Regions from separate parts of the Homo sapiens genome. Here region 2 is linked to region 1. The links are contacts of gene promoters, found by promoter capture Hi-C in human tissues and cell types (Jung and others, 2019). All regions are on one chromosome and are shown on one strand. Each heading gives the region's core, a stretch centred on a gene start or on the middle of the fragment in contact. The rest is flanking DNA. Distances are from core to core; before and after follow the strand shown.

Evidence for each region. Contacts are between HindIII fragments. The study calls those that stand out against the background at their distance.
Region 2: a contact is called between a fragment that was not itself captured here and the fragment with the promoter of TMEM45A in region 1, in 1 of the 25 tissues and cell types used here (pancreas).

Annotation. Positions count from the first base shown.
Region 1 is chr3:100,489,586-100,493,873 of GRCh38, forward strand. TMEM45A (transmembrane protein 45A) reads left to right here and starts at 3,034. Exons shown (of 6, transcript NM_018004.3): 1 at 3,034-3,343. RefSeq lists a silencer at 2,752-3,051. The HindIII fragment of the contact is 8,963 bases long and covers 1-4,288 here.
Region 2 is chr3:100,547,999-100,552,286 of GRCh38, forward strand. The region is part of intron 1 of TMEM45A (transmembrane protein 45A); the gene reads left to right. Among named protein-coding and RNA genes, the nearest start is that of TMEM45A, 58 kb to the left of the region's middle. The HindIII fragment of the contact is 4,559 bases long and covers 1-4,151 here.

The DNA.
Region 1 (4,288 bases), core at 1,784-4,283:
GTCAGCTGTAGGTACTTTGGTAGGTGTTCTTTATCAAGTGTGGAAATTCCCTTCTATTCTTCTTTTTCTGAGCGTTTTTATGGTGCTGAATTTTGTCAAGTGCTTGTTCTACATTGATTGATATATTCATGCGATTTTTCTTTTCTTTAGCTTGTTCATATCAGGAATTGCATTGATCGACATTTGTTTTTTTTTTTTTTTTTGAGACAGAGTTTCACTCTGTTGCCCCATCTAGAGTGCAGTGGCAACTGCAGTCTCAACCCCCCAGGCTCAGGTGATCCTCCCACCTCAGTCCCACCTGTACCTGAGACTACAGGTGTGTGACACCATGCTGGGCTAATTTTCATATTTTGTGTAGAGATGGGGTTGTGTCCTGTTGCCCAGGCTGGTCTCAAACTTCTGGGCTCAAAGGATTCGCTGGACTTGGTCTCCCAAAGTGCTGGGATTACAGGCATGAGGCACCACGCCTGGGTTGATTGACTTTAGAATTTTGATTTTGCATCCCTGAAAAAAACTCCACTATGTTGTGGTGTATAATTATTTTTATATATTGCTGAATTCTGTTTGGTAATACGTTGTTAAAGATTTCTGCATCTTCACCTTGTTACAGCCTGGAAAAGGCGGGAGTCTAGGATTTCTACTCAGCCTCTGTTCATGTAGGAGTGAGTGGGGCCAGGGTTTTTCCTGTGGTGTTTGGCTGAAGTAGAGCCATTACTGCCTAAAAGTTTTTCTGTCTTTCTAGGCTTCCCATTTCCTGGTCCTTGACTAGAGAGAGCAGGGTTCGTTGAGACTTTTTTGTCTGTGCCTGTTGTCATTTTTGGGTTGCTGGCTTCTTCAGCTCCAAGTTTGGGGCAAAGAAACAACAGAAAGCAAGCCCAGGGAACTCAGCATCATGTCATTCCTTGGGTTCTGAGATTTCTAGCTCATCTGTCTTCTTCTCTCAACCTCTTGGAGTTTCCAATGTTGGAAAATATATGAAGTCCAGGATTTTTTGTTGTGCTTAGCAGGAGAAATGGAATACTGATGTCCACTCCATCTTCCTGAGAGCAGAAGGATTCTTTTTTTTTTTTTTTTTTTTTTTTTTTAGTGATTTTTGGTCAATATCAGATGCCTGTTGATGGTAATGAGTGTGGAGGGTTAATCAATACCTTGACTATCAGCCCACTGTTGAGCGGCTTCTGTGATAAAAAGTGCAGCATTGTGAGATTACAAATGATTCAGAAAGCTGAACACATGACACATTACTTTCAAGGGCTACATTCAAATGTTGCTCCTTTGTGGGTTTCCTTGACTGCCAGAAGGATTGGAGTGTTGTGGTTGCACTCATGTAGTGCCACTTTACTTGCTGAGCAGGCTCCTGCATTTGTGGGGGTCTTACAGAGTTATGATAACATTGCAGTCAGGTCCATTGAAATTGAGGTGTCTGACTATCCAATTGTGGCAGACAGACTTGTAGGTGGCCCCTGTGATCTCTATTCTCTGGCTTTTCAGAACCGTGGATGGCCATTGGGAGCCTAAGAGCAGTCTTTCGGAGCTAAGGGCAGCCTCTAGCTCACATCTAGAAAGAAACTGGGGAGTCAGTCCTAGAGCTGCAAAGAAATGAATTCTGTCAATGACCTGAGAAAGCTTGGAAATGATTCTTCTCCAGTAGAGCCTGCAGATGACAATGCAGCCCGGCTGACACCTTGATTGCACCCTTGTGAGAGCATAAGCAGAGGATCTAGTTTGGCCATGCCTGGACTTCCAACCTTCAGAAACTGTGCAGTGATATACATGTGTTGTACAAAGCACTAAGTTTGTGGGAATCTGTTGCGCAGCAATAGATGACAAATACACCAACAAACAAGACATTATCATTGTAGTGAAAGCTTTGGACACTCATAATAAATTCTGACCCCTGCAGGGATGGCAAATTGCAGATGAGTTTATGTATCTATGATGGAGTGCTGCAAACATATGTTTGGAGACATCTGTGGTAGGCTGGGATAGGTGCTGGGTCTTGGAGATTATTTTAATATCTATTTTATAAGGTAGTTGTAAGAATTAAATGTGATAATGCAGGTAAAAACTGTTTAATGCGGGGTCTGGTGCCTTCCCTGGCGTGCAGCCCAGTGAGTGTGGCTCTTGCCCACTTAATATTTCAATGAGGGAACGGTTCTGTCAATATGCACAAATTATAATGGCAATTGATTTGCAGATCTCTTCTTTCCTCCTCTCCTTCTAACTCACTAATCAAAAAACTGGTTAACCCTCCAACTGCTTTCCCAAGTTCAAAGCAACGTTTGGCGCAGTCCTTTCTCAATTCTCACACAACAAAGCAGTATTTCTCGGTTCCCTACAACGACCATCACTCAATACAAAAAACCAAGCAGGTCTGCCAAACCACTCTCATACCCAGTCCTGGTCATCTCCGCAGGAACAACTTCAATTCTGGTTAATAAGGACTTCAACGAAGGGTTCATTAAGGTTTTCCCTCCACCGAAAGAAAGAATACCGTCCCCAGGGAGCAGGCTCTTGGGCCCTATTATTTGCTCCCTGGAGAAAGTGAAGAGAGAGGAATCCCAAGGCGTGGCCTGAACGCCCTTTGGGGGCGTGGGCAGCCCGGAGCCCCAGCCTCTTCCACTCCAAGCACCAGGCGCGTCTTATTTTCAGCCCCCAAACGGCTACAAATCATCCGCCTTATTTTCAGCCTCCAAACGGCTACAAATCATCCTGTTTAAACAAAGCGGTCTGTCTAAAAGGAGGGGCATAACAGGGCCGGGGCAGGGGCAAGACCTGGGAGTAGGCAACCTCCCTCTCTGCCCCGAGCCGTCCCGGCCGCGCAGCCGCCGAGTGCCACATCAGCGACGGCGCTGCACTTCCACATTCCCTTAGGATGCAGCCAGCGGGCCTGAGAGAGGGGCGGGCCCGAGGCCCTCCGGAGTGGCGGGCCGCCCGGCCAATCGGCAGCAAGTGAAGAGCTGCGGCCACCAATGAGCTGGGGCTTGTGCCAGCCGCGGCCGCCGAGGCCCGTGCCCCGCGGGGGGAACAGATGAAGCACATCTGGACAGCTGTGCGGCCTCCTCGCGGGCCGACGTCAGCCGAGCACGTCCCCCACGTCCTCTCCTTCTCGCCACTTATTATTTATTCGTTTTCCCAAAGAAGCGACTAGGGACCCAAGTTTAAAAATTCCTCCCCCCACCCAATGCGAGACGTGGCCAGATCCCATCCAACACACGGTTTAATTTTCATGGGGCTCTGGGATCAAAAGAACAGAAACAGCAACAACAAAAGCCCAGCCGCTGTCTGATTTTAAGCTGGCAAAGTGGGAAAAATAAAGTGTTGAGTAAACAGACCAAGTTGGGTAAGTTTTGGATACGTGCTGGATATCATATTTCTCTTGCCGTGATCTCTATCCTGTGTCTTTTTACTGTTCTCACCAGCTTTCTCTTCATCAAGGGGAGAAAAGTAACACTTGCTGCGACAAACTGGACCCTTCGCTCCCTTCTCTTCCGTTTCACTAACATTTTAATTTAATTTTTTTGGTTTGCTATTCTTTTTTTTTTTTTTTTTTTTTTGGTGAGCTAGTTTTAAATATCCTGGGAGCAGCAATGTGACTGATATTCTGTTGTAAACCTCTAACTCCAAAATTGAATCTATTGATAAATTTATTTCTCTATTTTCTTTCTGTGAAAATACTGTGGGTATTTGTAAAGCCAAAATCGTTTTTTATCCCCAACTCTGGGACTGTTTTGATGGGAGATTGAGAAAATTATCTGATCTTTTCAGAATTAACACGTTTGCTTCTGTTAATAGGATGTCTAATATAAATTACGTAAAACCTGGGTTATGCAGGTAGTTGCTGGATTTTTCACTTAAATCTGGAGGTAGTTGCAAGCCAAATATATATCTTTTCGGTATTCTCCTATCCATAGTGGGAGACCTGAATTCCTTTATAATTGTTAAAAACAAACAAACATGTGACAGACCACTTGTGTGTTCATAAACTTATAATTGTATATATATACTATATAGTATATATGCACTATATAGTATGGTATATATACTATATACATGCTATGTATACACTATGCTATATGGTGTATATGCTCTATGTATGCTATATAGTATACTCTATATACGCTATATATTTTGTTGTTGTTGTAGTTTGTTTGTTTGTTTTTGAGACAGAGTCTCACTCTTGTCGCCAAGGCTGGAGTGCAATGGCACGATCTCGGCTTACTGGAACCTCTGCCTCCCGGGTTCAAGTGATTCTCCTGACTCAGCCTCCCAAGTAGCTGGGATTACA
Region 2 (4,288 bases), core at 622-3,121, 57 kb after region 1:
CTGATGTTCCGTGGATGGTTTTAGTTATTTAAACATTGAGAGGGGTTGGTAGTGGGAACAATAGGCAGAGGTACAGGAGAGATCAAAATAAGATAAAATAAATAAGGTAATAGCACTCTAGAGTGGTTATTTTCTTCTGACAGAGCTTTATTATCATTCTGGCTTTGGGAGCAGCTGCTGAGACACTCATCTCTGGTCACATGCTAAGCCTAATATGAATGAACACATCCGGGCTTATGACACTGACAAGAGACAAATGGCCTCTGGAGTACAGAGATGGGGAAGTTGGATTTAAATCTCAGTATCTTGATGCTACTCTGTTTGTCTCCACATGCTCATTCAAATAGCATTCCTGTGTCTTGGCACTATCATCTGCAAAAAGAAGAGACACTCATCCTCTTATTTGGAAGGCTGGGCTTGCTAAGCTGAGAGTGAACGAGAAGCTCTCTTGCAGACCAGAGCTCTCACTTCTTTCTTGATTTCACCTAACTGCTTTCCACTGTTGAGAAGCTTCCTTTCCACTGTCCCCTGGTCACTGCGGGCTCCTCCTCTACAGCACTACTTTAGAACGATCTCCTCCATCAGGCACCTTCTTAGACAAAGTCCTCTCCCCGTCTTACACATGCCAGTCATCTTAACACCTCCATAGAACTTGTAATTAGTTTGTTCCTTAGGGACATATTTTAGCATTTCTGTTTTTTGTGGTTTGTTCAGTCTATCATAAGCTTTCTGTTGTGAGCAGGGGCTGTGTCTATTCTGCAGTGGGTGCCTCAAGCGCCTGAAGTGTCCCTGTACAATGCAAGTGATGATTAGAAGAGCATCCCAAATGCTTTGCGCTGCACTGTTGACCTACAGCAGTTTTCTTTCATCATTTTTCTTATTCCTATAACTTCGGTTTTGGCCATGACTTCAACCCTGTGGCGATCTCTTTCTTGAGGCACTGTGTGTTAGAAAATGGGTTATCTTTGGCCGGGCATGCTGGCTCATGCCTGTAATCCCAGCACTTTGGGAGGCCAAGGTGGGCGGATCACCTGAGGTCAGGAGTTCGAGACCAGCCTGGCCAACATGGTAAAACCCCATGTCTACTAAAAATACAAAAATTAGCTGGTATGGTGGCATGCGCCTGTAATACCAGCTACTCAGGAGGCTGAGGCAGGAGAATCACTTCAACCCGGGAGGTGGAGGTTGCAGTGAGCTGAGATTGCCCCACTGCACTCCAGCCTGGGCAACAGAGTGAGATCCTGTCTCAAAAAAAAACAAAAAAACAAAAAAACAAACAAAAAAACCACCAAAACCAAACAAACAAAAACAACCAAAACGAAAATGGATTATCTTCTTATGCCTTACAGAACACGATCTATTATGTTACTGCTGCTCTAACCATTCCCTTTGTCTTCTGTCTGTCTCCATGGCCTGCAAGAGTGGCAATATCCTTCACTGGCCTTGGTTCTCAGAGCAGGTGGCACATGACTGAGGCTAGTGGCCTGGTAGGTGGGATGGCAAGGTGAGTCACATCCAGAACTGCCCTCTGGCACAATGTTTGGACAGGGAGGCTGGAGGTTCCAAAGGGTGTGTTCTCTGGGTTTAAATGCATTGGAACCTAGTCTGAAGGTTTACCTGCTCATGCTAGAAAGATAGGAGCACATTGGTTTAATCTCAAAGGAGGAAGAGTGGGCAGTTTTAGATTTAGGGCCACTCAGCATCTGCTTTTCCCTCTTGAGTCTAGAGCCATTATAAATCCTTAAGAGTGTGATATTCCCCTTCCTGTGTCCATGTGATCTCATTGTTCAATTCCCACCTATGAGTGAGAATATGCGGTGTTTGGTTTTTTGTTCTTGCGATAGTTTACTGAGAATGATGGTTTCCAGTTTCATCCATGTCCCTACAAAGGACATGAACTCATCATTTTTTATGGCTGCATAGTATTCCATGGTGTATATGTGCCACATTTTCTTAATCCAGTCTATCGTTGTTGGACATTTGGGTTGGTTCCAAGTCTTTGCTATTGTGAATAATGCCACAATAAACACACTCTGGGGACTGTGGTGGGGTGGGGGGAGGGGGGAGGGATAGCATTGGGAGATATACCTAATGCTAGATGACGAGTTAGTGGGTGCAGCGCACCAGCATGGCACATGTATACATATGTAACTAACCTGCACAATGTGCACATGTACCCTAAAACTTAAAGCATAATAAAAAAAAAAAAGAAAAAAAAATAAATCCTTAATAGAAGAGAATTGAGTTGGACTTGACATTGAGGAAAGTGTGAAGGTAAGGATACTTTAAGAAGACTCATTCAAAACCAATGAAATTTGCAGGAGAAAGTGCTGGTACAGAATGATGGAGAATGAAATTTTAAAGCTACATATTTTTGTATCCACATAGTATGTGGATACAATTTGAGTATTAAGACAAACAGAGCAAAGCTGTTCAGATTTGTTTAGTGTATTGGAATTTACAAATGTATTTTGAAGTATGAGTCACTAATGAAGACTTAGGAATACTTCATTTTGGTGGTGGCGCAAGATGAAATTTTAAGTTTTTTCTCATAATGGTATTCATTTTATATTGAATTTAGCTATTCGATTAGAATTCCACCAAGCAAACCATTGCATCTCTTTTTCTGGGTTATTGTGAGTTGTTTTCCCTTTCTGTGTATAGACCTAGTCTGTGGTTTGTGTGGCTGTTAACATCTGGGAATTAACACCTAGCACCTGAGTTAGATCTTGGGCTCTGCCCAATATTATCTCTTAAGGGATAGAGTTTTAAAATGTTTCCCTTCTGCATGGTGAGTGAGTCTGTGTTTACGCCGGGGGGTGTTCAGCAAAAAGTAGGGTAATGGGGATACCAGGAGGGGTTTCTGGTTTTCAGGCCAGAGGGTAATGCTTGGTATCATTAGAAGTGGAGGGCTTCTTTGGATGGGGGAGGAGGAAGAATTTTTAGGATGAATCACACTGGAAACCAATGATGAAATCTTTCAGTCCGTCTTTTTAGGCCTGGGTGAACTGCTTTTTTTTTTTTTTTTTTTTTGAGACGGAGTCTCCCTCTGTCGCCCAGGCTGGAGTGCAGTGGCGGGATCTCGGCTGACTGCAAGCTCCGCCTCCCGGGTTCACGCCATTCTCCTGCCTCAGCCTCCCTAGTAGCTGGGACTACAGGTGCCCACCACCACACCCAGAGACTTTTCTGTATTTTTAGTGGAGACGGGGTTTCGCCGTGTCAGCCAGGATGGTCTCGATCTCCTGACCTCGTGATCCGCCTGTGTTGGCCTCCCAAAGTGCTGGGATTACAGGCTTGAGCCACTGCGCCCGGCCGAACTGCTTTTCTTAGGAGGTTGTAAGTGGTAGGATCAGGTAGGAGGGTACGGAGGAAGGACCTTCATGTTTCCTGCCCTGGCATTTTCCCTGGGGTTGCTGCTGGCTGCTTGCATGTTCTCTTTGGTGGGCGAGGAAAGCCCCGTGGTCTCCTTCAAACGAGAATGTCTGCTTTTGTGTTTAAATCTGATCAAACTCTGTGCTACTTTACTTGGCTTTTACAAGGAGTAAGTTGCACCTGAAGGCAACAGTAAAGCAGGGAACAAGAGATTTACAGATAATTGTTTCTAGGAGATGAGAGTGAAGTAACGTTTGAGGATATGGACAATGTTTTCTTTCACAATGAAAATGAAATAAGATGAATGATGTTTTTATTGCCAGGAGTAACTGTATCTGTTGGGTTCCTTAGCCAGACAAATGTTAACAACCCTTATACTTTGACTTCATTTTGTTTGGATCTTTAAACAGAAAGATTGGAACCATCAGATTGTTTCAGATTAAAAGGCTGAAGACACAGGAGTTGTATAACTGAAGTAGGAAGGAGGACTCCTTTCTTTCCCCACTTTGATCAGCTCATATTCTTCTTCACAAACCCTCCACTATTCCCCATTGCCTCCTTATTACATCCTGATGGATGTGCTGAGATATACTGATCCTCTCAGCTTTGGGGGCAGCAGGAGCCTCTTAGCTTGTCATAGGGGTGGGTCAGGAGGGCTATTTGGCCTAGAGCTGTACATTCAGGGAAGGCCTGGATTTTAAAATTTCATCATATCTATGACATAGGCAATATGTTTGCTTGTATGTTTAAAGTATTTATTAGGTAATTCTAAATATTTAAAAGCAACCAAAATTTTTGTGACTCTGTTTTGGCATTTTCTTTCTTTTTTAATATACTAACAGCCTTAAAAAAAAAGTGGAGAAGGCCCAGGCATTTAACCTCTGAGGTGCCCCCATAGTCAGTTGCACAGGCTTTC